Regions from separate parts of the Homo sapiens genome. Here regions 2, 3, 4, 5, 6 and 7 are each linked to region 1. The links are contacts of gene promoters, found by promoter capture Hi-C in blood cells and fetal thymus (Javierre and others, 2016). All regions are on one chromosome and are shown on one strand. The core of a region is centred on a gene start or on the middle of the fragment in contact, and the rest is flanking DNA. Distances in the headings are between cores, read along the strand shown. Region 1 holds the start of HSD3B7 (hydroxy-delta-5-steroid dehydrogenase, 3 beta- and steroid delta-isomerase 7). Region 2 has its middle 5.7 kb from the start of ZNF843. Region 3 overlaps ITGAD (integrin subunit alpha D). Region 4 overlaps ITGAX (integrin subunit alpha X). Region 5 has its middle 8.3 kb from the start of ITGAX. Region 6 overlaps ITGAM (integrin subunit alpha M). Region 7 overlaps ITGAM (integrin subunit alpha M).

Evidence for each region. Contacts are between HindIII fragments. The CHiCAGO score rates a contact against its expected background, and 5 or more counts as called.
Region 2: a fragment that was not itself captured here is called in contact with the fragment with the promoter of HSD3B7 in region 1 in 14 of 17 cell types (naive CD4 T cells, neutrophils, naive CD8 T cells and 11 more); the score reaches 12.2 in naive CD4 T cells.
Region 3: a contact is called between a fragment that was not itself captured here and the fragment with the promoter of HSD3B7 in region 1, in 3 of 17 cell types (neutrophils, monocytes and naive B cells). The highest score is 10.8, in neutrophils.
Region 4: a contact is called between a fragment that was not itself captured here and the fragment with the promoter of HSD3B7 in region 1, in 10 of 17 cell types (naive CD8 T cells, naive B cells, monocytes and 7 more). The highest score is 12.5, in naive CD8 T cells.
Region 5: a fragment that was not itself captured here is called in contact with the fragment with the promoter of HSD3B7 in region 1 in 8 of 17 cell types (total B cells, naive B cells, erythroblasts and 5 more); the score reaches 7.9 in total B cells.
Region 6: a contact is called between a fragment that was not itself captured here and the fragment with the promoter of HSD3B7 in region 1, in 2 of 17 cell types (monocytes and naive CD8 T cells). The highest score is 6.1, in monocytes.
Region 7: a fragment that was not itself captured here is called in contact with the fragment with the promoter of HSD3B7 in region 1 in 1 of 17 cell types (monocytes); the score reaches 5.2 in monocytes.

The regions. Positions count from the first base shown.
Region 1 is chr16:30,982,297-30,986,456 of GRCh38, reverse strand. HSD3B7 (hydroxy-delta-5-steroid dehydrogenase, 3 beta- and steroid delta-isomerase 7) reads right to left here and starts at 1,250. Exons shown (of 7, transcript NM_025193.4): 1 at 1,160-1,250; 2 at 633-804; 3 at 253-408; 4 at 1-34. The coding sequence starts at 798. It overlaps SETD1A (SET domain containing 1A, histone lysine methyltransferase), which reads right to left. Exons shown (of 19, transcript NM_014712.3): 18 at 2,685-2,822; 19 at 1,793-2,607. The coding sequence ends at 2,434. RefSeq lists an enhancer at 1,269-1,781. The HindIII fragment of the contact is 29,451 bases long and covers 1-4,160 here.
Region 2 is chr16:31,446,455-31,450,614 of GRCh38, reverse strand. No RefSeq gene overlaps it. Among named protein-coding and RNA genes, the nearest start is that of ZNF843, 5.7 kb to the right of the region's middle. The HindIII fragment of the contact is 6,267 bases long and covers 1-4,160 here.
Region 3 is chr16:31,394,618-31,398,777 of GRCh38, reverse strand. It overlaps ITGAD (integrin subunit alpha D), which reads right to left. Exons shown (of 30, transcript NM_005353.3): 3 at 1,316-1,419; 4 at 1,112-1,182; 5 at 869-983. Among named protein-coding and RNA genes, the nearest start is that of ITGAD, 3.4 kb to the right of the region's middle. The HindIII fragment of the contact is 5,767 bases long and covers 1-4,160 here.
Region 4 is chr16:31,374,172-31,378,331 of GRCh38, reverse strand. It overlaps ITGAX (integrin subunit alpha X), which reads right to left. Exons shown (of 30, transcript NM_000887.5): 21 at 1,417-1,533; 22 at 1,253-1,332; 23 at 1,067-1,150. Among named protein-coding and RNA genes, the nearest start is that of ITGAD, 17 kb to the left of the region's middle. The HindIII fragment of the contact is 1,195 bases long and covers 1,680-2,874 here.
Region 5 is chr16:31,344,784-31,348,943 of GRCh38, reverse strand. No RefSeq gene overlaps it. Among named protein-coding and RNA genes, the nearest start is that of ITGAX, 8.3 kb to the left of the region's middle. The HindIII fragment of the contact is 1,480 bases long and covers 1,073-2,552 here.
Region 6 is chr16:31,314,779-31,318,938 of GRCh38, reverse strand. The region is part of intron 14 of ITGAM (integrin subunit alpha M); the gene reads right to left. Among named protein-coding and RNA genes, the nearest start is that of ITGAX, 38 kb to the left of the region's middle. The HindIII fragment of the contact is 2,960 bases long and covers 608-3,567 here.
Region 7 is chr16:31,293,222-31,297,381 of GRCh38, reverse strand. The region is part of intron 12 of ITGAM (integrin subunit alpha M); the gene reads right to left. Among named protein-coding and RNA genes, the nearest start is that of ITGAM, 35 kb to the right of the region's middle. The HindIII fragment of the contact is 384 bases long and covers 1,571-1,954 here.

The sequences.
Region 1 (4,160 bases), core at 1-2,500:
GTCTGCACACAAGCCTCGATCACGTTCCGGGTACCTGGCAGAGGAGGAGGCGTATCCAAGCTGCAGCTTCTTCCCTCTCTGCATCTTCCTCCTCCCCATCCCAGGTCCAGGGAAAACCATGACAGGTCAGGGGAGGCGGGGGCAGGGCTGTCAATAGGACAACTTGTCCCAGGGGAGTCACCGGAGGTCAAGGCCAAAGACAGAGTGGGGAACAAACAGGCAAGATGGCCAGGAGTGTCCAGAGCTCCTCACCCTGCACGTTGACCTCATGGATGGTCTTGGGACTGGCCCTGCCAAACACGTCTACCAGCCCAGCCGTGTGGATGACCACATGGGCTCCGGCCACAGCTGCTGCCACCTCATGGGCCTGGGTCACGTCCCCCTGGATGGCAGTCACCCTCACAGGCCCTGGCCGGGGTTGGAGGACACAGGCCATGTCAGAGCTGGGGCCAGAGGCCAGAGGCTGGGTTCATCTTCCACCCTGGAGTCACGTTCCCAATGTGACTCACTCGACCCATCCATGTGGACAGAAACCAGCATCATCTGTTCCACTGCAGGGGTGGGGATCCCAGCTTGGGAAGGGTTGGGGAAGCGTCCACACCCTCTCCACCACAAGCTCCCCCAACAAGAACCTGTCTTCAGCTCCTCCAGCCAGGGACCCAGGTGTTGGTCAAAGACCCGCAGCTCCCCGAGCCGGGGCTCCCGCTGCAGCAGCATTCGCACCACGTGCTCTCCCAGGAAGCCACAGCCCCCTGTGACCAGGTACACCAGCTTCTGGGCCTGTGCAGAGTCGGCCATGCCTGGCTGGGGAAGAGACCTTGGCTCATCCAGGGGCTGGCTGCCACCTGCTGCAACCACCTGTTACTGCTGGAGGTGCCCTGGAGCGGTGACGAGGCTGGCGTTTGCGGGGAGGGCAGAGCTGATCCTGGGAGCTGCAGCAACCAGGCCACCTGCCGTCTGCCCCTGCTGATGGCTGAGTTACGGAGAGAGGGGCGGGCTTGGGGTGCAGGAAGGGGTCAGGGTTTAGGGAGAGAGATTTGAAGGCAGTAAAAGGGTGGGGAGGCCAGGAGTTGAGGGAGGTGGAGGGAAGGTTATAGGAAGGTGGGAAGGGCCGGATGGAGGGAAAGGCCACCTGGGCACTGGCAGCGCCTCTGCCTACCTGCAGCCGCTATCCCAGGGTGCCCAGACTGGCCTGGAGGGGCCCTCTTCTTTCGTCCAGGGCTGGCCGGCCCGCACACCGTCCTTCCGCTGGCTCCTCCTTCTCCCTCCTGCCCCATTCCAGGAACAGAGACCCGCCCAGCCACAACCCCCACCACTCTTGCCCCAAGGCGCCCCCTGGCGGCCGCTCTGTGCTCCACTGGCATCTGGGTCCAGCGGAGAACTTGGTGGGGATGAAGCTCGAACTTGCAGAGTGGGCTGAAGGGGTCTGGGGCTGTGGGTGGAGCCAGCGGTGACCTCATCCCACAGTGTGACCTCAGGCCTTCCCTCCTGCTGGGCTTCCCAGGAGGCCGGAGGTCCAGCTGCAGCTGTGATTGTAGGAAGGGGAGGCCTGACCTTGGCACCACCCTGGCGGGCACTGGTGGGGTATTCCTGGTGCGGGTGCGGCTGCTGCAGCCTGTCAGGGGGTCCGAGACAGTCTCGGACTGTCTCTGCAGGTCTGGGCTCTTGCCTGAAGGCCCCTTTACCTGCCCCACACTTCAGGTACCCACTTTTCCCTCTCTTCAACTTGCACAACCCTCCGTGCCCTCTACCCCCAACCCCTCGCTCCTGCCCAAATACACCGACCAAACACTTTTGTACAATAAAGTTTAATCACAATTATAAAAATGTGGCGTCGGGTTTGCGCTATTAACATATGTACAGTCCAGCCCAGCAAAAGGGACCCACCCCGCCATCCTGGCCTGGCTGAGCCGGGGAGTGACACCAGGGTGGAAGGGTGACCCTCAGGGTCTGGCAGGAACAGATGAGGCAGGGTTCCAGGCACGGAGTCCCCAGGACTGGGGGTGCAGAGCCCCCCCAGGGGGAGAACATGGCCACTGCCCCAGAGACCCCTAAACTGGGGAGGGGTACACGCAGGGCGTAAGGGGAAGTCCCCATTAACACAAAGCAAGAGGACTGTGTAGCCCCCCAGGACAGAATCTGTACAGGCCGGCACCCCAGGTTTCCACAGGAAACAGCTGCTGGCTGCTACAAAACATTTACAGCTTCTTCTCCGCAAAGAAAAACAATCAGGGGGTGGTGGGCAGGGGTGACAGGAGAGGCAGAAGCTGCCTCCAGGGACTGAGGCTCCCTCGCTGGGCTTGGGGCCCCCAACCCCACGCTTGGAGATGGGGGCATGTGGGCCCTGCTGAGCCCACTAAGGCTGGGGGGGTGCTGGGAGCTCAGGGCACCAGGGGGAATAAATAGGGGTGTGGGCACCCATCCTGCCCCACCTCAGTTTAGGGAGCCCCGGCAGCTCTCTGTGCCACACAGACACGGGATCTTGTTGTCTTCCAGTGGGAACTTGTAGTCGTAGGTGATCTCCTCGTCCACGCCAATGGGCTGCTTGGAGTAGATCACGATCTTCTTCTGGGACTCGATGGTGATGACCTTGGCGTAGCAGTTAGGCTGCGGATGGAAGGGCGTGTGAGCCGTGGCCACCCCCACCGACCCCCAACTCCTGCCCCGGCTGGCCCCTGGCGCACCGTGCAGCAGTGGTTGATGAATCTGGCCAGGTTGCCACACTTGGTGGCATCGATGATGGTGTCGTGGTCCACCCGGAACAGGTAGCTGCTGCCAATGCCCTCCTGCACGTAGCGCTTCTCCCGCATGTCGGCCACCATCTGCCAGGGTGAGATGCGATGGTCAGGGAAGAGTCCCCCACTTCCTGCCCCTGAGCACGCCTGCCAGCCAGCACCCCAGGTCCACGCCCACCAGGCCTGGAGCTGCAGCTCTGCCTCCAGCTCCCGCTAACCCGGCACTGACTCTCTCGACTCTGCTTCCAGGAGCCCTCCCTCTTTGGGGCAGCATCCTAAGCCTCTGGTGGCCATTCTAAGTCACCCGCAGGGAACTCCAGGGAAATCTGCACTGGGTAAGAGAGCCACTGACTCCTTCGAGCATCTGCCTGGTCACAGTGGGGTCCCGGACTGCTGGGGCAAGTCTGGGGTTGGGGCAGCTCCTGAAATGACTGGCCATGTCACCAACGGCACCCTGCTCATCTCTCCTCCCTGGACCTCTCTCCAAAACAGGCACCTGTTGGCTGCCACCGGCTAATGCAAATGGCAGGCCGCCCATGTCAGGCCCCGCACCTCCGTGTGAGGAGCAACCCTTACTTCCCAGAAGACAGTGAGGAGCCTCTGCACGCCCTCCTCGGGTGACCTCACTCCCTTCCAGAGCCTCAGCCGCCAGCTATGTGGTGGGGACTCCTCCCAAACTTCCATTTCCAGCCAAAAGCCACCTCAGTGGAGCTGCTGGGCGTCATCCCCTAGATGTCCCTGGGGCATTGCAACCCCACATGTCCAGACTGGAGCTCATCTTGACCATATATTTGTTCTTCCTCCTCACACCCATCTCACTGGCCCTCCCATCATACTCCCAGCAGCTAAGAGCAGCACCGAGAGAGGGCCTCCCGTCCCCCTCACCCTCTCACTGCTGAGCCCAGCCAACCACCTTGCACCCAAAGCCTCCTCTCTGTCACCTCTGCTGCCACTGCTTGGGTCGGGCCACCCTTGCCTTTGCCTGGATACTGGTGTCAGCCTAGACATGGAGCTCACTAGCCATGGGGCCCTCTCCTGCGGAAGGACCCTCTCCTGCGGAAGGACCCTCTCCTGAAGAAAGCTCCGGGACTTTCCTCCTCTCTCACCACAGGCCCAAGTGGATTCACAGGCTCCCAAGCCCGTGCGGTCTGGGCTCTCTGTTCCCTCCAGCCACACGTCGCTGCCACTGACCCTGTTTTTTCTTTTCTTTTTTTTTTTTTTGAGACGGAGTCTTGCTCTGTCGCCCAGGCTGGAGTGCAATGGCGCGATCTTGGCTCACTGCAACCTCTGCCTCCCAGGTCCAAGCGATTCTCCTGCCTCAGCCTCCCTAGTAGCTGGGATTACAGGCGCCTGCCACCACGCCTGGCTAATTTTTGTATTTTTAGTAGAGACGGGGTTTTAGCATGCTGGCCAGGCTGGTCTCGA
Region 2 (4,160 bases), core at 1,034-3,533, 460 kb before region 1:
TTTTTTTGAGATGGAATCTCGCTCTGTCGCCTAGGCTGGAGAGCAGTGGCGCGATCTCAGCTCACTGCAACTTCTACCTCCTGGGATCAAGCGATTCTCCTGCCTTACCCTCCTGAGTAGCTGGGACCACAGGCGCATGCCACCATACCAGGCTAGTTTTTTTTTGTTTTGTTTTGTTTTGTTTTGTTTTGTTGGTATTTTTAGTAGAGACGGGGTTTCACCGTGTTAGCCAGGATGGTCTCGATCTCCTGACCTCGTGATCCGCCTGCCTCGGCCTCCCAAAGTGCTGGGATTACAGGTGTGAGCCAGTGCACCTGGCCTTGGCCCTTTCTCTTTTTATTTCCTCGCAGTTCTCTCCCTTTTTTAAAAAAAATAATAATAAATTGAATTTATAAATAGAGGCAAGGTCTTGTTATGTTGCCCAGGCTGGTCTCGAACTCCTAGGCTCGAGGGATCCTCCCACCTTGGCCTCTCAAAGTGCTGGATTACATGTGTGAGCCACCCCACCTGGCCCCAGCTCTCTTAATTGCCAGCACTCCTCTTGGAAGTCCCTCATCTTGATTACCTTATTTAAGGTCACCTCCTCACAGGCCCTATCTTTTTTTTTTTTTTTTTTTTTTGAGAGGGAGTTTCGTTGCTTTTGCCCAGGCTGCAGTGCAATGGCGTGGTCTCGGCTCACTGCAACATCCATCTCCTGGGTTCAAGCCATTCGCCTGCCTCAGCCTCCCAAGTAGCTGAGATTACAGACATCTGCCACCACACCTGGCTAATTTTTTGGAATTTTTAGTAGAGACGGTGTTTCACCTTGTTGGCCAGGCTGGTCTTGAACTCCTGACCTCAGGTGATCTGCTTGCCTTGACCTCCCAAAGTTCAGGGATTACAGGCGTGAGGCACCATGCCCAGCCAGTCCCTGTCTTCAAATACAGTCACACTGGGGGTTAAACAATGTATAAATTTGGGGGCGATACAAACATTCAGTCCATAACACCCCCTATACCCCAACCCTAGGCAACCACTAATCTACATCTTATCTCTACAGATGACCTATTCTGGACATGTCATATAAATGGAATCATACAATGTGTGGTCATTCGTGTCTGGCTTCTTTCATATAGCATAATGTTATCAAGGTTCATCCACACTGTAGTATCTCATTTCTTTTTATTAGGAATAATACAGTTTCACTTTATGGATTGCTGTGGTTTGAACCTGTCCCCTAAAGTTCATGTGTTGGAAACTTAACCTCCAATTCAACTGTTGAGAGGTGGGAACTTTAAGAAGTGATTAGGTTATGTGAGCTCTTCCCTCATGAATGGATTAATGGCATTATTGCATGAGTAGGTTAGTTATCAAGGGAGTGGACAGCTGATAGATAAATGGATGGGTTCTGCCCCCACCCACCCCCTCTCTTGCACTGTCTTGCCCTTCCGCTTTCTGCTGTGGGATGAGGCAGAAAGAAGGCCCTCACCAGATGCAGGGCCCTTGACCTTCGACTTCCCAACCTCTAGAACTGAAAGAAAGATATTTCTATTCTTTATAAATTATCCAGCCTTAGGCATTCTACGATGCAGCACAAAACAGACTAAGACATGGATATGCCACTTTCTTCAATCATCAGTTGACAGACATTTGGGTTGTTTCCACTCGGGCTATTATGAATAATGCTGCTATGAATACTCACGTACAAGGTTTTTGTGGAATATGCTTTTATTTCTTTTGGTTACATATCTAGAAGGGAAATTGCTGGATCATATAACTCTATGTTTAAACATCTGAGGAACTGCCAGACCATTTTCCAAAGTTAATGAATGATTTTACGTTCCAACCAGCCATGTGTGAGGGTTCCAATCTCTCCACATTCTCACAAAAACTTGTTAATTAACTGTCTTTTCAGCTTTTTTTTTTTTGAGTCGGAATCTCACTCTGTCACCAGGCTGGAGTGCAGTGGCGTGATCTCAGCTCACTGCAACCTACGCCTCCCAGGTTCAAGTGATTCTCCTGCCTCAGCCTCCCAAGTGACTGGGATTATAGGCGCCTGTCACCACGCCCAGCAAATGTTTGTATTTTTAGTAGAGACAGGGTTTCACCAAGTTGGCCAGGCTGGTCTCAAACTCCTGAGCTCAGGTGATCCGCCCACCTCGGCCTCCCAAAGTGCTGGGATTACAAGTGTGAGCCACTGCCTGTAAATATTATCATTTAAAAAATATCATTTTTAAAAATATTATTTAAAAAAAAAATTTTAATGTTTTTTAAATATTATTTTTAAAAATAATAATAATGTTATTATTATTTGAGATAGAGTCTCCATCTGTTTCCCAGGCTGGAGTGCAGTGGCGTGATCTCAGCTCACTTCAGCCTTCACCTGCCAGGTTCAAGTGATTCTCCTGCCTCAGCCTCCTGAGTAGCTGGGACTACAGGCACCCGCCACCATGCCTGGCTAATTTTTTGTGTGTTTTTAGTACAGACTAGGTTTCACCATGTTCACCAGGCTGGTCTCGAACTCCTGAGCCCAGGTGATTCGCCCACCTCAGCCTCTCAAAGTGATGGGATTACAGGCATGAGCCGCCACTACTGGCGTAATTACCTGTCTTTTTTATTATCACCATCCTAATATGTATGATGTGGCACCTCGTTGTAGTTTTGATTTGCATTTTTCTGAGGACTAATGATGTTGAGGATCTTTTCATGTAATTATTGGCCATTTATATAACTTCTTTGAACTGTCTATTCAAGTCATTTGCCCATTTAATTTTTTTTCTTTTTCTTTCTTTTTCTTGAGACAAGGACTCCTCTGTTGCCCAGGAGTGCAGTGGCACAATTTCGGCTTACTGCAGCCTCCACCTCCATGGTTCAAGTGATTCTCAGCCTTCCGAGTAGCTGGGACTAGAGGTGCAGGCCACCACACTCGACTGATTTCTTTCTTTCTTTCCTTTTTTTGTTTTTTGAGACTGAGTCTTGCTCTCTCGCCTAGGCTGGAGTGCAGTGGCGTGATCTCTTCTCACTGTGACCTCTGCCTCCCGGGTTCAAGTGATTCTCCTGTCTCAGCCTCCCGAGTAGCTGGGATTACAGGCACATGCCACCATGCCTGGCTAATTTTTGTACTTTTAGTAGAGACAGGGTTTCACCATGTTGTCCAGACTGTTCTCAAACTCCTGACCTCAGGTGATCCGCCCACCTCAGCCTCCCAAAGTGCTGGGATTACAGGCGTGAGCCACCGTGCCCAGCCTAATTCCATTTTTAAATTGGATTATTTGTCTTTTTTATCATTGAGTTGCAATAGTTCTTTATACAGTCTAGGTACAAATCCCTTCCCAGATATATGATTAGCAAAGATTTTTACCTGCTCTGTGGGTTATCTTCTCCTTTTCTTTTTTATCTTCTCTTTTTCTTAATAATGTCCTGTGAATCTCCCTGACGTCTGGGTATTTGGAAAGAAAAAGAAAAAAATTAAAGAATAATGTCATATGAAGCGCAAGAGGTTTCAATTTTGATGGTGTTCAGTTTCTGTATTTTTTTCTTTTGTTGCTTGTGCTTTTGGTGTCATATCTAAGAAAGCATTGCTTAATTCAAAGTTATAAAGATTCTAAGAGTCCTAACTTTTAGTTCTATGATTCAATTTGAGTTAACTTTTATATGTATTGTGATATAGGGATCCAAATTCATTCTTTTGCATGCAGATATTCAATATCTACCTTGTATATATACATATATTTTTTTAATTTTTAATTTTTTTTTTTTTGAGACAGAGTCTCCCTCTGTCACTGAGGCTGGAGTGCAGAGACACAATCGCAACCCACTGCAACCTCTGCCTCCCAGGTTCAAGGGATTCTTGTGCCTCAGCCTCTCGAGTAGCTGGGATTAGAGGTGTGTGTCACTATGCCCAGCTAATTTTTGTATTTTTAGTAGAGACAGTGTTCTGCCATGTTGGCTGGGCTGGTCTCGAACTCCTTGCCTCAGGTAATCCGCCCACCTTGGCTTCCCAAAGTGCTGGGATTATAGGAGGGAACTACCTCGCCCTGCCTATTGTATAATTTTTTATTGAGAGTGCTATGGTTTGAACATCCCCTCCAACTCATGTTGAAATTTAATTGCCATTGTAACAATATTAAGAGATGAGGCCTTTACGAGGTGATTAAGTCATGAAAGTTCTGTCCTCATGA
Region 3 (4,160 bases), core at 1,227-3,726, 410 kb before region 1:
GCACAAGGACTCATGCCTGTCATCCCAACACTTTGAGAGGCTGTGGCAGAGGATTACTTGAGCCCAGGAGTTCAAGACCAGGCTGGGTAACATAGCAAGACCCCCATCTCTACAAAAACATTTTTTTTAATTAGCCAGGTGTGATGCATGTACCTGCAGTCCCAACTACTCAGTAGGCTAAGGGAGGAGGATCACTTGAGCCCAGGAGTTCGAGGCTGCAGTGAGCTATGATTGCACCACTGCACTCCAGCCTGGGCGACAGAGCAAGACTCTGTCTCAAAAAAATTAGCAGGGTGTGGTGGTGCATGCAGCCTGACAGAAACTCTGTTTTTTGTTTTTTTTTTTTTTTTGAGATGGAGTTTTGCTCTTGTCACCCAGGCTGGAGTGCAATGGCACAATCTCAGCTCACTGCAACCTCCGCCTCCTGGGTTCAAGCGATTCTTCTGTCTCTGCCTCCCGAGTGGCTGGGATTACAGGCGCACACCACCACATCCTGCTATTTTGTTTTGTTTTGTTTTGTATTTTTAGTAGAGGGGTTTCACCACATTGGCCAGGCTGGTCTCGAACTCCTGACCTCAGGTGATCCGCCCACCTCAGCCTCCTAAAATGCTGGAATTACAGGCCTGAGCCACTGTGCCTGGCAGGGACCCTGTCTTAAAAAGAAAAAAATATAAAGAAAAACCCTGCAAAGAACTTCTACCCTGGAGCAGCAGGGCTCCTGCCTGAGCCACCCTCTTCTCCTGGCTTCTCTCCTAGCCACACTCGGCCCTCCAGGGAGGGCACAGGGGCCCAGACACAGGCCTCACGCCTGCTCACCCTCAGTGCCAGCATGTGCTCCACAGGGAACCATGGCCTGCCAGGGACCTACCTGGCGTGGCGTCGGGGACTGTCTGGATGATCTCCCAGCGCGAGCCCAGCAGGAGGCAGGAACCCTTTGAGTATGAGTTCTCCCCACAGACTCTGTGCAGGGTCGGGCCACAGGCCTGGAGGCAGAAGCCTGTGAGCCAGGAGTCCCTAGCAGCCCCTCCTCCTTCACTCCCAGCCCCAGCCTCCTCCCCAACAACACCCCCCGCCCCACCCCACCCCCCCGTGGCCCAAGACACTCACTCACCAGGAGCCGGGAGCCGTTGGTGGAGGCTGCCAGGGTCAGGCCCAAGGACATGTTCACGGCCTCAGGGCGGACTGCAAGGGCAGACACGCGGGGTCTCACTCACAGCACACACTCATTTGCGGGGAAGGTCTGGACTGGAAGCTAAGCGGGGGCACAGTTGGGTCCAGGAGGGTTGAGGGGCCCAATTCCCAGGTGGTCACTCACTGTGCAGCGGGATGGGCTGGCACATGCCGGTGGCAGCTGCGCAGTCATACAGCCGTCCCGTCTGGTTGGCCGCCACCACCTCCAGGGGTGCTCCCACCACGAGTCTGGAGACACAACCATGGCCATGTCACTGCAGCCACAGGAGGGGTGGGAGCAGCGGGCACTTGGGGGTGAGGAAGTGTCCCTCCATGGGGAAGCGAGACTCTGTGGGGGAAATTCCTGGCATTTGCCACTTGGCAGAATATTCAGAAATCAGGGCCCAAGTGTAACTCACAGATGCCCAGGGGCCATGCTGGGGTTTATTTGGTTTTGAGTGTGCATAAGTACGTATGTGTGTATTTATGTTTAGAAATTTCTTTTTAACATTCACCAAAAAAAAAAAAAAAAAAAAAAAAAAAAACCTATTTAAAGACCAAAATGGCATTTCCCAATCATGGGTAAGCACATTGCGTTTCTGAGTTGCCATTATTTTGAACCACCCAAGAAATAAGATCATCTCAAGTTAATTGGAACAATTTCCTGAAGACATGTGCTTTCAAAACAAATAGTTGATTCTGTAATTCATTGGACCAATTTAAATATTGTATAAGCAATTTCAATTGGCCAATGTAAAGCAGTGTACTAGGATCCATAACTATATCTATAGTTATGTAGAGTCAAGGGTTTATTTGCAAAACTCCCTGAGTGGGAAAGTTTTTTAATTTTGGAAATGTTTTCTCACTACCCACAATCTCCTGTCTGTGAGAAAAGCAGACAGATACTGGTGTATTTTAATGCGCCAAGCAAGGCTTCATTAAATGGCCATGTGAGGGTTCCTTCTAGGTGCCGCTCCTTTACAGAAAGCTACAATCCCTGTGCATCATGATTCAGGGGATGCCTAAGGCTTTGTGAAGAAAATCTGAGCATTGGCTAGAGAGGTAGCAGTTTGGAACCTGCTGATACAAACGATGAGCAAAACTTTAGTGTAACCCATCAACCCATATGTTTTTTGAGACAGAGTTTCACTCTGTCACCCAGGTTGGAGTGCAATGGCGTGATCTCAGCTCACTGCAACCTCCACCTCCCAGGTTCAAGCAAATCTCCTATTTCAGTCACCCAGCTAGCTGGGATTACAGGCACCTGCCATCACGCCAGGCTAATTTTTGTATTTTTTAGTAGAGACAGGGTTTCACCATATTGGTCAGGCTGGTCTTGAACTCTTGACCTTAGGTGATCCACCCGCCTCAGCCTCCCAAAGTTCTAGGATTATAGGCATGAGCCACTGCACTCAGCCAATGTATTCTTTTTTTAAAATGTGGCCCAAAAAACTGATGGTGACAGAAGTCTGACCAGGGGTTCTCTGGGGATGTTGGGTGATGAGAAGGGGTCCACGGCAGCCCTGTGCCTGTGGGATTTGACACTGGAGCAGCTGACCTAGGTGGGGCTCACCCAGGCACGCACATGTGTATCCTTTATCAGATTGGGTCTTTCAGATTTGTGCACCTCAGTTGACCACATTTCCAAATAAAGAAAAACAAAAGCCTGGTGCCTGGTGCTTGCTTCCATCCCCCCAGACTGCCAGTCACATGAGGAAGGGAGAGGGGTGCGCGGTTGGAGCTCGGTGACCTCTTATAGCTCCTCGTGACCAACTGAGCCTTCCTGTCCACTGGGGCTCACTGCCAGCACCACTTCCTCCATGGAACCCTCCTGGGTCTGCTCTCTCCCTGCCTGCGCCCCCCAGACCTTGGTGACACCTGTGTCACATTGTGACTTGAACTCTCTGGGACAGGAGAATGTGAGCTCCTGGAAGTGGGGGCAGGTTCATAATTTGTGGGTCCCAATTTGAAATAAAACTGTGGGGTCTCTTGGGGTTGGGGGGCTCTTACCTTTCTTCTGCTCTCTTCCTCAACCTGTCCTGACGTTTTTTATTTGCTATGTAGTGTCCCACTCCCTCGGGGTACTCCCAGAGTGAGCGCCCCTAACTGACTTTACCCAGCTCATGCCAGGGGCGGAAGGTAGCAGCGGTCATTGCTCCCACATGGGTGGGGGAGCCAGCAGCTGATACCCCTTCACCACCCTTCAGGAGGCGGTGGGAGGTGGGGCTGCTGCTGAGCTAAGGCTCCAAACCCCCAGTGCATCTCCCTTCTCCCATGACTTTTTTTTTTTGACGGAGTCTCACTCTGTCACCTAGGCTGGAGTAAAGTGGCACGATCTCGGCTCACTGCAACCTCCACCTCCCAGGTTCAAGCGATTCTCCTGCCTCAGCCTCCCAAGTAGCTGGGATTACAGATGCCTGCCACCATGCCCGGCTAATTTTTTTTGCATTTTTAGTAGAGATGGGGTTTTGCTGTGTTGGCCAAACTGGTCTCAAACTCCTGGCCTCAGATGATCTGCCCGCCTCAGCCTCCCAAAGCGTTGGGATTATAGGCGTGAGCCATGGTGCCCAGCCCTGCCATCATTCTTTACTTGCAAAACACAAATGCACAGATAAAATTTTTAAGAATTGGCAAGACAGGGTGGCTCACACCTGTAATCCCAGCACTTTGGGAGGCCAAGGCAGGAGGATTGCTTGAGCCCAGGAGTTCAGCCAGTCTGGACAACATAGCAAGACTCCATCTCTGTAAAAAGTAAAACAAAACAAAACAAAAAACAGGCATGATGGCATGCACCTGTGGTCCCAGCTATTCAGGAGGCTGAGGTGAGAGGATCACTTGTGCCCGAGAGTTTGAGGCTGCAGTAAGCTGTGATTGCACCACTGCACTCCAGCCTGGGTAACAGAGCTGGAGTAAAAATAAAAATAAAAATAATCAGGAATTTCAAGAGGTCAAGGGCAGAACATTAAACTCCAAAGTTAATGAGTGTGGGC
Region 4 (4,160 bases), core at 1,028-3,527, 390 kb before region 1:
CCCTTTGTGGGGATGTAGGATGCCAGGGCTCTGTGGGACACAGCACAGAGTTGGGGTGGCCCAGGCTGACGCTGTTGACCAAATGCTACTGAGCATTGCCCCTTCCCAGTCCCCCACATACCTCCCCGGGGGCCCTTTTTTCCCATTTCCTTGGCTTTTCCGGGCCTGGGGCTTGGAGGGGAGGGAGGGCCCACAGCAGACTCTTCATGAGGTCTCAGTTTAACACCTCCTGAGCCCTTTTTGGGCACAAGCCTGGAGACCTGGTGGGCAGCTGGGACCATCACACAGGTGGCCAGTCTCACCACTGCCTCACTGCTTCACTCTTCCGGCACCTGTCCTCCAGCTGGCATAGTCCAAACACCAGCCCACCACGCCTACTCTGAAGCCTCATTCCTCCTCTGCCAATTTTTTGTAGAGCTAGGGTCTCACTATATTGCCCAGGCTGATCCTGAACTCCTGGCCTCAAGCAATCCTCCCACCTTGGCCTCCCCCAGAAATGCCCCAACCTGGCACTCCCTGTGCCCTAACCCACAGAGTCACACCTGCCATGTGTGGCCAAGCTGTGGATCACACCTGCCATGTGTGGCCAAGCTGTGGACCACACATGCCTAGAGTAGGTGAGCCCTGCCTGTGGGTCCCCTGCCAAGGGGTATGAGAGCCTGGGGCACACCCCAGCACACGAGCTCAGAGCGTGCACCTGGCTGGGAGCCTCCACGCATGCAGGTGCAGGTGAGAGTGGGAAACACCAGGCACAGGAGAACATCCAGCAAGGCACACCCCACAAGGGCGAGGGTTCATGTCTGGTTTTGATCACACATAATGGGGGCTCAGTAAATCTTCAATGAATGTCAAATGAATGTATGGAAAATAACCACAGCACCCTGCCTGGCACACAGCAAATTCGAGGAAGGCATTGGCTGAAGGAAGGTGTCTGCTGAAACACCTGACCTTTTAGTTTCAAACACCTTATCTCACCCTCTGTGGCAGCGTTTCAAGGCCTTTTTTTTTTTTTCTTTTTGAGGTCAGAGAGAAGAACCCTTTTTCCTGCAGTGGGGTACCTGCTGACCTGCTAACCACAGTGTAGACAGCATACTTCACCGGGAGCTCCAGCTGGAAGGTGGTCTTGCTGGTCCTGGGAGTGTTGTTCTCACTGGAGAAAGAGGAGAGACTCAGTTGCCAGAGGCCCCAGAGGAGGAGAATGGGGTGTGAGGCTGGAGATGAGGGGCACTGCCCCTGGCCTGGCCCGGCTCACCTGCTCACATTGGCTGTCAGAAGCAGCCGGTCTCCCAGGACAGCCTTGGGGGAGACGTCAAAGGTAGCCAAGAAGGTGATCTGAGGAAAAGGAACTGAGAGGTCACAGAGCAGTAAAGACAGGGTGGGGCAGGGGAGCAGTGAGGGGACAGAAGCCAGGCTGACCTGGGCGCCGCCACGGAAGATGAGGTGGTTGATTCTGCAGCTGGTGCTCCAGGTGCCCTGGCTCCCAACTGGGGCGCTGTCACATGTCAGGTGCAGGGAACGCAGCTGCCCTTGTTTCTAGGCATGAGAAAAAGTAGAGGAGTATTAGTTGAAATTGAAAGCAATGGCAAAAACCCAATTACTTTTGCACCAACCTAATATAACAGCATTCCAAAGACACGCCACGAAGTAGTGATAAAGCTTCCTGGAGCCCACCTTAAGCTTATGTTTTTGTTTGTTTGTTTGTTTTTTGAGACCAGGTCTCACTCTGTCACCCAGGCTAGAAAGCAGTGATGCAATCACAGCTCACTGCAGCCTCAAACTCTGGCCTCAAGCCATCCTCTTGCCTCAGCCTCCTGAGTAGCTAGGACTACAGGCACACACCACCACCATGCCTGGCTAATTTTAAAAAAATTTTTTTATAAATGGGACCTCGCTATATTGCCCAGGCTGGTCTTGAACTCCTGGCCTCAAGCAATCCTCCCATCTTGTCCCCCCAAAACACTAGGATTACAGGTATGAGCCACCATGTCCAGCCAAGGTTACGTTTTTAAAAGCTCCCCCATAGCTATCTGGTCAAACTTTCTTCCAAAGTAGAAATCTCAAATGTATTAAAATGTTCACCTTTTTATTGTTATTTTAAAGGCCTCTTATAATGGAAAATTTAAAACACATTAAAAAATAGAGAGACTGGAAAATCAACCCCATATAACCATCACTCATTTTAAGTAACCAACATTTTTCTACTCTTGTTTCTGCTATGTTCTCTTTCTGAACACTTTAAAGCACATTCCAAACACCATATTGTTTCATCTAGAAATACTTCAGTGTATACCACCAATAGATAAGGGTATTTTAAATGTAACCACAAGAACCAACAAATCACAGCCAACAAAATTAACAATTACTCCTTAATATACCAATATACTGGTCATGTTCTATTTTCTTAGATTGTCTCCAAAAATGTTATTTTACAGCTCATTTGTTAAAATCAATATTCAGCAAAGGTCCACCCATTACATTTGGTTGATATGTCTAGGAGCACTTTCATTGACAGTGATCACCCCTCACATGCAAGAGATGGCCTTTCCTGCTGTGTTCTTTTATACGTTAATCAAAATGCGCTTCCGCTGGGAATATTAGACTAAGAGAGACAGCAGAAATAACAACCAACCATCATGTATGGACCTAGTTCGAATTTTCGTTCAAATAGACCAGAAGTAAAAAGATATTTTTGAGACAGTTACACAATTTTGACTATGATCTTAATACCAAGGAATCACTTATTTCATTGGGTGTGATAATGGTGTTGAGGTCATATAAGAGGTCCTCATTGTTCAGAACTATAGAGTGTGTCTTTGTCTGTTCCCTGCTGCTATAACAGATTACCGCAAACTAGGTAATGTATCAATAGAAGCTTTGTGGTTCTGGAGGCTGGGAAGTCCAAGAACATGGCACCAGCATCTGGTGAGGGCCTTTGTGCTGCATGTGCAAGGCAGTGCATGTGAGAGTGAGAGGGAAAGGGGGCCAAACTCATCCTTTAATTAGAAACCCACTCCTGGGCTAGGCTCCGTGGCTTACGCCTGTAATCCTAGTACTTTGGGAGGCCGAATCGGGTGGATCATTTGAGGTCAGGAGTTCAAGACCAGACTGCCCAACATGGTGAAACCCCATCTCTACTAAAAATGCAAAACTTAGCTGGGCGTGGCAGTGGGCACCTGTAATCCCAGCTACTCAGGAGGCTGAGGCACAAGAATTGCTTGAATTCGGGAGGCAGAGGCTGCAGTGAGCCAAGATCGTGCCACTGCACCCTAGCCTGGGCAACAGAGCAAGACCCTCTCAAGGAAAGAAAGAAAGAAGGAAAAGAAAGAAAGAAAAAGAAAGAAGAAAGGAAGGAAGGAAACCCACTCCTGAAATAACTAATCTACTCTTGAGATAATAGTATTCATCCATTCATGAGGGCAAAGCCCTCATAACCTAATCACCTTTAAAAGGTTTCACCTTTCAACACTGTTGCATTGGGGATTAAGTGTCCAACACACGAACATTGGGTGATGCATTCAAACCATAGCAGAGTGAATAAGGAGGAGTACAATGACCCCCATGTCTGAGATTTGTTTTAAAATACTTTAGCAGGTCAGGCACAGTGGCTCATGTCTGTAACTCCAACACTTTGGGAAGCTAAGATAGGAGGACTGCTTGAACCCAGGGGTTAGAGACCAGTTTGGGCAGCATGGTAAGACCCCAACTCTACAAAAAAAATTAAAAAATTAGCCAGGTGTGGTGGTGTGTGCATGTGGTTCTAGCTACTCAGGAGGCTGAGATGGGAGGATCGCTTGAGCCCAGGAGGTCAAGGCTACAGTAAGCTGAAATTGTGCCACTGCACTCCAGCCTGTGTGACAGAGCAAAACCCTGTCTCAAAAATAAAGAAATAAAGAAAATACCTTAGCAAAGGGGAAAAATTGATGAAACAAATGTGGCAAAATGCTGCTAATTGTTGAATCTAGGTGACAAGTTTTGGGGAGGTTTGTTGAACTACTTTCTACTTTTGTAAATGTTTTAAATTTTTCATAATAACTTTTTTTTTTTAGACAGAGTCTTGCTCTGTTGTGCAGGCTGGAGTGCAGTGGCACAATCTCAGCTCACTGCAACCTCCGTCTTCCGGGTTCAAGCAGTTCTCTCACCTCGGCCTCCCCAGTAGCTGG
Region 5 (4,160 bases), core at 563-3,062, 360 kb before region 1:
GCAACGCATCCCTGGCAGACAGGGAAATGCTGGGTCATGAGCAAAGGGAAGAGGGAGGAAGGAGCTCCTGCTGGCAAAGCCCCGGGAGAAATGAGGGCTGTCCCTGCTCAGACTCCCACACTGGCAAGCGATTTCACCAGAATGAGAAGAATATGGATTTAATTTGTATTTAAATTCAGTGAAATAGACACACAGGAGAAAAGGGGAAGTGAAGACAAGTCACTGAGAAACTGGGGAAGAAGGGAGAGAAGAGGAAAGATTATAGAAAAGAGGTGGTCACAGAAGGGGGCTTGGGTTTGCAGTGTTGGTGACAACACCCACACCTTCCATTTGAAGGCTTCCATTTGAAGGTGGAGGCTTCCCTCCACCCACCCATCCACCTGTTCACCCATCCACCCACCCATCTGCCCATCCACCCTCCACCCCATCCTTCCATCCGTCCACTTGTCCACACACAAACCCATCCACCCTCCCATCACCCATCCGTCCTACACCCACAGACAGGAACTGACCCCTGGTTGTATCTGCTCAGTGTCCAATGCCCATCATTGGAGAGACAAGGAGAAGAAAGCAGGATAGAGTGGGGAAAGAGGCTAAGTGACAAGGAGCTCTCCCCTGACCCTGACTCCAGCCTGGTCCCCGGAAGCTGTGAGCATGAATGGGTCCTTCCTTGAGGCTGAAGTGTGGCCCTTGGTTCTCCCCGGGTGGGTCAGTCATTGACCACCAGCCATTCTTCCCCACTTCCTCTAGCTTATCCCACTGCCACACAGAAGAAGGGGCTACTCCCCTGCAGGCAAGACCATTCCCCAGAGATTGGGGGCACTTGTGAGCCTTGAGCATCAACACAGCAACTGAGAAATTGGTGTTAACCCAATGTTAACCCTCCAAGCAAGAGTTTTTAAGGGCGAGGTACATTTCAGGAAAGCAGAAGTTACAGGCAAAATCATAAACCAATACCTGGAGGTTATACATTAGTTTGGCCTAAAAAGCCAGGATATCTTGAAGCAAGGCTTACAAGTCATACATGGGTTCAAAGATTCTTTGATTTGCAATTGGTTAAGGAAGGAAAGCTTCATCTAAAAACTTGGGGTCAGCAGGAAGGAATATTAAGGTCTGGCCTATGGGAGTGACTGTCTCTCCAGGGCCCTCAGGAAGAAATTTAGAGCAAAGAATAGTGATCAGAGTTCAGTCTTCACTTCCTCCTTATCAGTGGCCTACATACCAGCAGATGGCATTTTCCATCTGGGGGTGATATGGTTTGGATTTGTGTCCCCACTCAAATCTCATGTTGGATTATAATCTGCAGTGTTGGAGGAGGGGCCTGGTGGGAGGTGATTGGACCATGGGTGCGGATTTCTCCCTTGCTGTTCTCGTGATAGTGAGTGAGTCATCACAAGATCTGGTTGTTTAAAAGTGTGTAGCACCTCGCCCTGGTCTGTCTTCTTTCCTTCTCCAGCCGTGTAAGACATGACTCCTTCCTCTTCGCCTTCCACCATGACTGTAAGTTTCCTGAGGCCTCCCCATCCATGCTTCTTATAATGCCTGAGGAACCATTAGCCAATTAAATCTCCTTTCTTTATAAATTACCCGGTCTCAGGAAGTTCTTTGTAGCAATGCAAGAACGGACTAATACAGTGGGGGTCCAGGTTTCTGAAAAACAACTCAGGGATGTACGTTAAAACCCTTGGTTTTCTGGGGAACCACACATCTTGTGGCTCTCACTTCCTTGGCTATTGTTTGAAGTGACTGTTATCTTCTTGCTTACCGGGCTGCTCATATACTTCTCCAGATTAGCAAGGTGCCTGGAATTCTCCTTGAAGAAACTCAAGATTTTTCTTTATTTCCATGTGTAGGGGAACCCAGCAGGCCTCTGAAACGGATCCACGCTCAGTCTCAGGCACAGACAACATCTAGTGACCACAGAATGATTTCATCTTAATCCCTTTTTAGGGTAAAAGGAGGGAGTGAGAGAATCCCTAGGAAGGTGGGGTGAGAGAACAGAACAGGGCAGAAATCCAGGGTCTCTGTGAGAACTTGAACCAGTGGGGCCGTGCCTGGGAGGGGCTGGGCTGGAGATGCCTGTGTGAATTAAGAGAGGGAGAATTCCAAAGAGGAGGAGTAAGGCAGGGTCATCCCACTCAGCTTCTCTCTCCTGGCCCTGGCATGGTAGCAGGATTGGTCTCAACAGGCAAATGCGTATATGGCAGAACTTGGCAACCAATGCATTCCGTTCACATTCACTCAGCCCAGCCTGCAGAGGGATCTTATCCTTTAATGGCAGTGGGGCATAGGGGGCAGATAAGGGGAAGGATTTTAGCAATTGTTCAAGTCTGCGCCAAGATGGGAATGCCCACAGAGGAAGCAGAAAGGAAATTGCTCTATTGATCTATTTATCACAGTAGCTGGACCAGAGGATTGCGGAAAGACACAAAGACCAACCAAATGAGAACAGGCGAAGTCTATTTATTCAAAGCTGGCTCTAGCAAGGGAGTCAGTGGCCATCACTGGTGTTTTGGCAGAGACTCAAAAATGGGCAGTACAGTAGGAAAGCTTTGTAGTGGAAACTGGGAAGTCTTCAGGGATGCCCCAAGTAGAAGCTGCTGGCCTGGGAAGCTGTATGTGGCTCACTGGAAGCGGGCATCCTGTGCAATTGACTAGGGGACATATTTGGCTTTGTCTGGTTGGTCCTAAGTTGGAAGTAGGGACAAAAATTAGGGAAGCCATCAGTTATTGATTAAGTCCTGGACATGGGGCTGATTGTTAGTTATTGATAGGCTTCCTGGGCTGGTTGCTGCAGGCTGGGGGGCAGATGTCTATTTTTATGTCTAGTCTGACCACTATCCCTTTGTATATTCAGTCTCTTGGACTCTAGAAAATGTGAAGTATGCCAGGTGCGGTGGCTCATGCCTGTAATCCCAGCACTTTGGGAGGCAGAAGCAGGAGGATCACTTGAGCTCAGGAGCTCAAGACCAGCCTGGGCAACACAGCAAGACCCTGACTTTACAAAAATTTAAAAATTAGGCTAGTACTGGCTGGGCACGGTGGCTCACACCTGCAATGCCAGCACTTTGGGAGGCTGAGGTGGGCAAATCACGAGGTCAGGAGTTCAAGACCAGCCTGACCAACATGGTGAAACCCCGTCTCTACTAAAAATACAAAAATTAGCCAGGCGTGGTAGCGGGTGCCTATAATCCCAGCTACTCAGGAAGCTGAGGAAGGAGAATTGCTTGAACCCAGGAGGCGGAGGTTGCAGTGAGCTGAGATCGTGCCATTGCACTCCAGCCTGGATGACAGAGCAAGACTCCGTCTCAAAAAAATAAATAAATAATTAGGCTAGCACAGTAATGTGGGCCTGTAGTCCCAACCACTCAGGAGGCTGAAGCAGGAGGATCCCTTGAGCCTGGGAGATCAAGTATGCAGTGAGCTATGATCGCACCACTGCACTCAGCCTGGATGAAAGAGAAAGACCCTGTCTCAAAAAAAAAAAAAAAAAAAAGAAAGAAAGAAAAATGTGAAGTGGCCCAGTTGGATACTATATGGTCCTGAAGATGTGTTAGGATGAAGGGAAAGGGATGTCTGAGAGCTGTCTCTCCTTCAAGAGTGCACAGAGAATAGGAAGCTGGGGAAACCCAGGCCTGTTCATTCATTCATTCCCTCTCTCAGCAATTGTTTGTTACATGTTCTGGGTATTGTCCTAGGGTCTAGGGGTGTGATGGGGCTTCCTGTCCCCTGGGAATGTACAGTCTCCAGGAAAAGAAATGCAGGTTGCCATGGCAGCAAGTGAGAGGCAGAACTTCTCCCAGCTGGGGGATCAAGAGGATCTGGAGGAAGATCACTTCAGCTGAGGCAGGGGTCAGGTGAACAAGAAAAGGAAGTGAGTTCTGGGCAGAGGATACAGCATAGGCAAAGGTTGAGAGGTGAAAGGGAGTTAGGGGAACGCGGACAGGTCCCGACCTTCCCAGATAGGCCATGTTGAAGCCGGGCTTCTCCGGTAATTACTAATCACAATGCCTTTCACTTTCAGAAGCGTGTTGGTCAACCAAAGTGTGGCTCACCTCGGAAATGTGAGGTTCAAGAGGGAGGGGTGGGCCGGAGCAGAAGCTGAGCTACAGAGGAAGCCAGGGTCTCAAAGGTCACCTCAAAAACAACTGCCCAGGCTC
Region 6 (4,160 bases), core at 838-3,337, 330 kb before region 1:
ATAACATGAGATAAATGAAAACAAAAACACAATATACCAAACTTAATGGGAGGCAGCAAAAGCAGTACTAAAGGAAAGTTCGGGATAAACACCTAATTTTAAAACAAAAAGACAAATTTCAATTACAAAACCTAACTTTACACCTCAAGAAATGAGAAATAAAAGAACAAACTAAACCTAAAGTTAGTAGAAGGAAGAAAATAATAAAGATTACAGAAAAATAAATCAAATAGAGAATAGAAAAAAATCAATGAAATTAAGTTGATTTTTCAAAAAGATAGAATTGACAAGCTTTGGCCAGGTGCAGTGGCTCACGCCTGCAATCCCAGCACTTTGGGATGTCGAGGCAAGTGGATCACCTGAGATGAGGAGTTCAAAACCAGCCTGGCCATCATGGTGAAACCCTGTCTCTACTAAAAATACGAAAATCAGCCAGGTGTGGTGGCACGTGCTTGTAATGCCAGCTACTCAGGAGCCTGAGGCAGGAGAATCACTTGAACCTGGGAGGTGGAGAATGCAGTGAGCTGTGATCATGCCACTGCACTCCAGCCTGGGCAACAGAGTGAGACTCCATCTCAAAAAAAAAAAAAAAAAGAACTGACAAGCTTTTAGGTAGACCAAGGAAAAAGGGAGAAAAAACAGAAACAACAGATAAGTAAAATTATAAATGAAAGAACATACAACTGATGCCATAGCAATAAAAAGGATCATTAAGAGACTACTATGAACAATTATATGTTAACAAACTTGATAACCTTGAAGGAATGGATAAATTCCTAGAAATATACAACCTACCAAGCCTGAATCATAAGGCAATAGAAAGTTTAAACAGATCTATAATGAGTAAGGAAATTGAATCAGTAATCAAAGACCTCCTAACAAAGAAAAGCCCAGGACCTGGTGGCTTCTCAGGCAAATTCTACCAACCAAACATTTAAATAAGAATTAATATGAATTCTTCTCAAACTCATCCAAAAAACTGAAGAGGAGGGAATACTTCCAAACTTATTGTATGAGGCAAGCACTATCCTGACACTAAATCCCAACAAACACACCATGAGAAAAGATCACTACATGCCAATTTCCCTATTGAACATAGATCCAAAATCCTAAATAAAATACTAGCAAACTGAATTCAATAGCACAAAAGGGTCATACGCCATGACCATGTGGGCTTTATTCCTGGCATGCAAGGATGGCTCAACATATGCAAATCAATAAATGTGATGCACCACATTAACAGAATAAGGAATAAAAATAACATGATCTTATCAATAAGAAAAGAAAGCATTTAATAAAACTAAACATCTGTCTTAGCTTATTTGGTATAACAAATAACATAGACTGGATGGGTTATAAGCAATAGAAATTTATTTCTCATAGTTCTGAAGACTTGTGACATCCAAAATCAAGGTGCAAGCAGATTCAATATCTGGTGAGAGCCTATTTTCTGGTTCATAGGCAACCATCATTTTGCTTTTGTCTAAGGGCACTAATCCTATTAATGATGGCCACACTCTCATGACCTAAACACCTTCCAAAGGTCCCATCTACAAATACCATCACACAAGGAATTAGGCTTCAACATATGAATCTGGGGAGGACACAAACATTCAGGCCACAGGAATAGCCACTCATGATTAAAAACCCTCAACAAACTAGAAATACAGGGAAATTACATCAACATGATAAAGAACATTAAAAAAAGTGTCTAGTTAACATCATACCCAGTGGTGAAAATTTGATTTTACCACTAAAATTAGGAACAAGGCAAGGATGCCCACACTCACCACTTCTATTTCAACACAGTACTGAAAGTCCTAGCCAGAGCAATTGGGCAAGAAAAAGATAAGAAATGCATTCAAGTTAGAAATAAAGAAAAAAAAATTGTCCCTGTTTGCAATTGACATGATCTTATATATAAGAAACTTGTTATAAATACTCTACGAAAAAGTTATCAAATTTAATAAACAAATTTAGTAAAGTCATGGAATACAAAATGAACATACAAAAATTATTTGTTTCTATACACTAACAACAAACTATCTGAAAAAGAAATTAATCCTATTTACAATGGCATCAAAAAATAAAATGCTTACAAGTTAATTTAACCAAGAAGGTGAAAAATATGCACACTAAAACTATAAAACATTGACGAAAGAAAGTTAAGACAAAAATCAATGGAAAGATATCCCATATTATGGATTGAAAGAATATTTTTAAAGGTCCATACTATTCAAAGTGATCGATAGAGTCAATGTAATTCCTACCAAAATCCCAATGGCATTTCTTACAGAAATAGAAAAAACAATACTAAAATTAATATGAAGTCACAAAAGACCTCAAATATCCAAGACAATCTTGAGCATAAACAACAAAGGTAGAGGTATCACACTACCTGACATCAAAATACACCACAAAGGTATACTCAGCAAAACAGCATGACACTGACATAAAAACAGAGACATTGACCAATGGAACAGAATACAGAGCTCAGAAATGAACCCATGCATTTACAATCAACTAATTTTCTTTTCTTTTTTTTTTTTTTCCAGACGGAGTCTTGCTCTGTTACCCAGGCTGGAGTGCAGTGGCATGATGTAGGCTCACTGCAACCTCTTCCTCCCAGGTTCCCCCATTCTCCTGCCTCAGCCTCCCGAGTAGCTGGAACTACAGGTGCCCACCACCATGCCTGGCTAATTTTTTTTTTTTTTTTTTTTTTTTTTTTTTTTTTTTTTGAGACGGAGTCTCGCTCTGTCGCCCAGGCCGGACTGCGGACTGCAGTGGCGCAATCTCGACTCACTGCAAGCTCTGCTTCCCGGGTTCACGCCATTCTCCTGCCTCAGCCTCCCGAGTAGCTGGGACTACAGGCGCCCGCCACCGCGCCCGGCTAATTTTTTGTATTTTTAGTAGAGACGGGGTTTCACCTTGTTAGCCATGACGGTCTCGATTTCCTGACCTCATGATCCACCCGCCTCAGCCTTCCAAAGTGCTGAGATTACAGGCATGAGCCACCGCGCCCGGCCAACAATCAACTAATTTTCAACAAAGGTGCCAAGGGCATACAATGGGGAAAGGACAGTCTTTTTAACAAATGGTGTTAAGAACACTGGATATCCACAGGCAAAAGAATGAAACTGAGCCTTTATCTCAAACCAAATACAAAAATCAAAAGTGCTGGGCCGGGTGCAGTGGCTCACGCCTGTAATCCCAGCACTTTAGGAGACTGAGGCGGGTGGATTACCTTAGATCAGGAGTTCAAGACCAGCCTGGCCAACATGGTGAAACCCCGTCTCTATTAAATATACAAAAAAGTAGCCAGGCATGGTGGCGGAGGCCTGTAATCCCAGCTACTTGGGAGGCTGAGGCAGGAGAATCGCTGGGACCCGGGAGGTGGAGGTTGCAGTGAGCTGAGATCGTGCCACTGCACTCCAGCCTGGGCAATAGAGAGAGACTCCATCTAAAATAAAATTAAATTAAAAAATAAAAAAATTAAAAAGTGAGTTAAAGGCTTAAATGTAAGATCTAACACTATAAACTATTAGAAGGAAACGTAGAGGGAAAGCTTCATGACATTGGTCTGGGCAATGATTTTTTTATATGATCCTGAAAGCACAAGCAACAAAAACAAAAACAGACAAATGGAATTGCATCAAACTAAAAAGCTTCTGCACAATAAAGGAATAATTAACAGAGTGAAGAGACAACCTACAGACTGGGGGAAAATATTTGCAAACCACACAACTGATAAATGGTTAATATCCATAACACATAAAGAACTCAATAGTAAGAAAATAAATAACCCAATTTAAAAATGGGCAAAGAGGGCCGGGTTCGGTGACTCACACCTGTAATCCCAGCACTTTGGGAGGCTGAGGCAGGTGAATCACTTGAGATCAGGAGTTTGAGACCAGCCTGGCCAACATGGTGAAATGCCATCTCTACTAAAAATACAAAAATTAGCTGGGTGTGGTGGTGGGCACCTGTAATCCCAGCTACTCAGGAGGCTGAGGCAGGAGAATCACCTGAACCTGGAGGCAGAGGTTGCAGTTCACGCTACTGTACTCCAGCCTGGGTGACAGACTGAGACTCCATCTCAAAAAAAAAAAAAAAAAAACCCTGCCTCCTACTACCACAGGAGGAACAGCCTAACCGTTTGC
Region 7 (4,160 bases), core at 513-3,012, 310 kb before region 1:
TGATAAATTATCACTTGAATGTGCTGCCAGCTAAAGGAACCTATATAATAAGCCTGGCAGAATGGTTTCTGCCTGTAATCCCAGCTCCTCGGGGGGCTGAAGTGGGAGGATCCCTTGAGCCAAGGAGTTTAAGGCTGCAGTGAGCTTTGTCACCACTGCACTCCAGCTTGGGCAACAGAGCAAGATCCCAATCTCTAAGTGTATATATATATTTTTTAATAATTTAAAAGATAAAAAATAAGCCTATAGTAGAGTCAATGGGCAGTGAGTGAGGATTTACTCCAGGTGGTATTCCTGGGAGATTATTAAGGCAGCAAAGAAGAATTTGGGTTGGAAAATACATAGAAAATTCTAGAAGAGAAGACAGAATACCACCCTTTCAATATATTGGGAATCTTTAGGGAGGTAAAAAGTCAAAGTTGGCACTCTGACTAATAAGGCTAATAACTGGCTTAGATTAAAAATAACTATTTGTTATTTGAATATTTGTTGTGATATTAAGAAATATCTTCAAGGTCAATATGTAGAATTCATCCATAAAATTCACCTATTTAATCATACATTCATTCATTCATTTATTCATTCATTCAACAAACAAGTGTTTCTTATTGCTAAGCACACAGCTGGGTAATAGAGATACAGTGCCTTCCAGGGCCCTCAGTGCAGCCAGGTGGAGGAGAGGAGAGTAATCAATGGATTAACAGGGAGATGTGTATAGCAATTTCAAACTGGGACAAGTTCTAGAAAGGGAATGTGCAGGGGACATCATGCCACGGCTCTGCAACGTGATTTCTGCCTCATACACCATTGAGGGAAGACTCATTGATAACTGAATACTTTATCCTAAAGTCAACAGAATTTGATTGTTTTTTAGGTCAGATTTATTGGGGAAGAGTTTACATACAATAAAATTCAGCCTTTTAGTACATAGTTTTATGAGTTTTGACAAACATATAAAGTCATATAACCGGCCAGATGCAGTGGCTCATGCCTGTAATCCCAGCATTTTGGGAGGCCAGGGCGTGTGGATCACCTGAGGTCAGGAGTTCGAGACCAACCTGGAAATCATGGTGAAACCCCATCTCTACTAAAAATACAAAAAAAAAAAAATTAGCAGGGCATGGTGGCGGGCGCCTATAGTCCCAGCTACTCAAGAGGCTGAGGCAGGAGAATGGCGTGAACCTGGGAGGTGGAGCTTGCAGTGAGCCGAGATAACGCCACTGCACTCCAGCCTGGGCAACACAGAGAGACTCTGTTAAAAAAAAAAAAAAAAAAGATAAAAAGATAATAACCATGATCAAGTGTGATTTATCCCTGGGATGCGAGATGCAAGGATGATTCCACATATGCAAATCAATTAATGTGGCATATCACATTAACAGAATGAAGGACTAAAACCACATGATCATCTCAATATACGCAAAAAAAAGCATTTGACAAAATTCAACATTCTTTTATAATAAAAACTCTCAATAAATTCGCTACAGAAGGAATGTACCTCAATATGATAAAGGCCATATACGACAAGCCCACAACAAACATCATACTCAATGGTGAAAAATTGAAAGCTTTACCACTAAAATGAGGAAAAAGGCAAGAATGCTCACTCTCACTACTTCTATGTAACATAGTACTGGAAGTCCTGGTCACAGCAATTAGGCAAGAAAAATAAATGAAAGAGACCCAAATCAGATATAAAAAAGGAAATTTGTCTCTGTTTACACTTAAAATGATATATATATAAAAACATATATATATAAATATATTTTTAAAAAACCCTAAAAACTCCACCAAAAAAGAACTACTAGAACTAATGAATAAATTCAGTAAAGTTACAGGTTACAAAATCAATGTGAAAAATCAATAGTGCTTCTATACACTAACAATGAACTATCTGAAAAAGAAATCAAGAAACAATCTCATTTACAATAGCATCAAAAAAAATACCTAAGCTTAAATTTAACCAGAGAGGTGAAAAACATGTACACTAAAACTATAAAACATTGATTAAGGAAGTTAAACAAGACAAAAATAAATGGAAAGATATCCTATGTTCATGGACTGGAGTATTAATGCAATCTTCTGATTCAGTACAATCCTTATCAAAATCCCAATGGCATTTTTTTACAAAAATAGAAAAAAAACTAAAATTTATGTAGAACCACAGAAGACCCTAAATAGCCAAAGCAATCCTCAAGAAAAAAAATACTGGAGGCATCATAATTCCTGATCTCAAAACATACTGTGTCAAGAAAGCTCTAGTAAGCATAACAGCAAGGTGGTGGCATAAAAACAGACACATCAACCAATGGAACAGAACAGGGAGGCTAGAAATAAAACTATGCATTTATGGTCAATTGATCTTCAATAAAGGTGCCAAGAATATGCAAAGGAGAAAGGACATTCTCTTCAACAAATGGTGTGGGGAGAACTGGATATTCATATTCAAAAGGATTAAATTAGACCTTTATCCCAAACCATATACAAAATCAACTCAAAATGGATTAAAGACTTAAACACAAGACCTGAAACTGTAAAACTACTAGAAGAAAACAAAGGGAAAAGCTTCTTGACAATCAAGCTTCTGAGAAATGATTTTTTGGATATGACCCCAAAAGCACAGGCAACAAAAGCAAACCAGACAAATGGGGTGGCATCAAACTAAAAAGTGTCAGCTTAACAAAAAAAGAAAATTTCAGGCCAATATTCTTGATGAACACTAATGCAAAAATCCTCAACACACTACCTGCAAACCAAATCCAGCAGCACATCAAAAATCTAATCCACCATGATCAGGTAGGCTTCATTCCCGGGGTGCAAAGTTGGTTCAACATATGCAAATCAATAAATATGATTCATCACATAAACAGAACTAAAGACAAAAACCACATGATTATCTCAATAGATGAAGAGAAGGCTTTAATAAAAGTCAACACCCCTTTATGTTAAAAATTCTCAATAAACTAGGTATTGAAGGAACATACCTCAAAATAATAAGAGCCATCTACAACAAACCCACAGCCAACATCATACTTGATGGGCAAAAGCATTCCCCTTGAAAGCCAGCACAAAACAAGGATGCCTTTGCTCACTAGTCCTATTCAACATATTATTGGAAGTTCTAGCCAGAGCAATCAGGCAAAAGAAAGAAAAAAGGGCATACAAATAGGAAGAAAGGAAGTAAAAAAGTCAAACTATCCCTGTTTGCAGACAACATGATTCTATATTTAGAAAACCCCATAGTCTTGGCCTAGGAGCTCCTTCAGCTGATAAATAACTTCAACAAAGTTTCAGGATACGAAATCAATGTACAAAAATCACTAGCACTCCTATACACCAACAAGAGCTGGGAGCCAAATCAGGAAGGCAATCCTATTCACGATTGCCACAAAAAGAATAAAATAACTAGGAATACAGCTAACCAGAGAGTTGAAAGATCTGTACAGTGAGAATTGTAAAACACTGTTCAAAGAAATCAGAGATGACACCAAAAAAATGGTAAAACATCTCATGCTCATGGATAGGAAGAATCAATATCATTAAAATGGACACACTTCCCAAAGCAATTTATAGATTCAGTGCTATTACTATTAAGCTACCAATGACATTCTTCACAGAACTAGGAAAAACTATTTTAAAATTCATATGGAATCAAAAAAGAACCTGAATAACCAAGTCAATCCTAAGCAAAAAGAACACAGAAGGAGGCATCACATTACCTGACTTCAAACTATACTACAGGGCTACAGTAACCAAAACAGCATGATACTGGTACAAAAACAGGCACATAGACCAATGGAACAGAATAGAGAGCCCAGAAATAAGGCCATACACCTATGACCATCTGATCTAAGACAAAAATAAGCAATGGGGAAAAGAATTCCTATTCAACAAATGGTGCTAGGATAACTGGCTAGCCATATGCAGAAGATTGAAACTGGACCCCTTCCTTACACCATATACAAAAATCAACTCAAGATAGACTAAAGACTTAAATGTAAAACCCAAAACTATAAGAACCCTGGAAGACAACCTAGGCAATACCATTCTAGACACAGGAATAAGCAAAGATTTCCTGACAAAGACACAAAAAGCAATCTCAACAAAAGCAAAAATTGACAAATGGCATCTAATTAAATGCAAGAGCAAAAGAAACTATC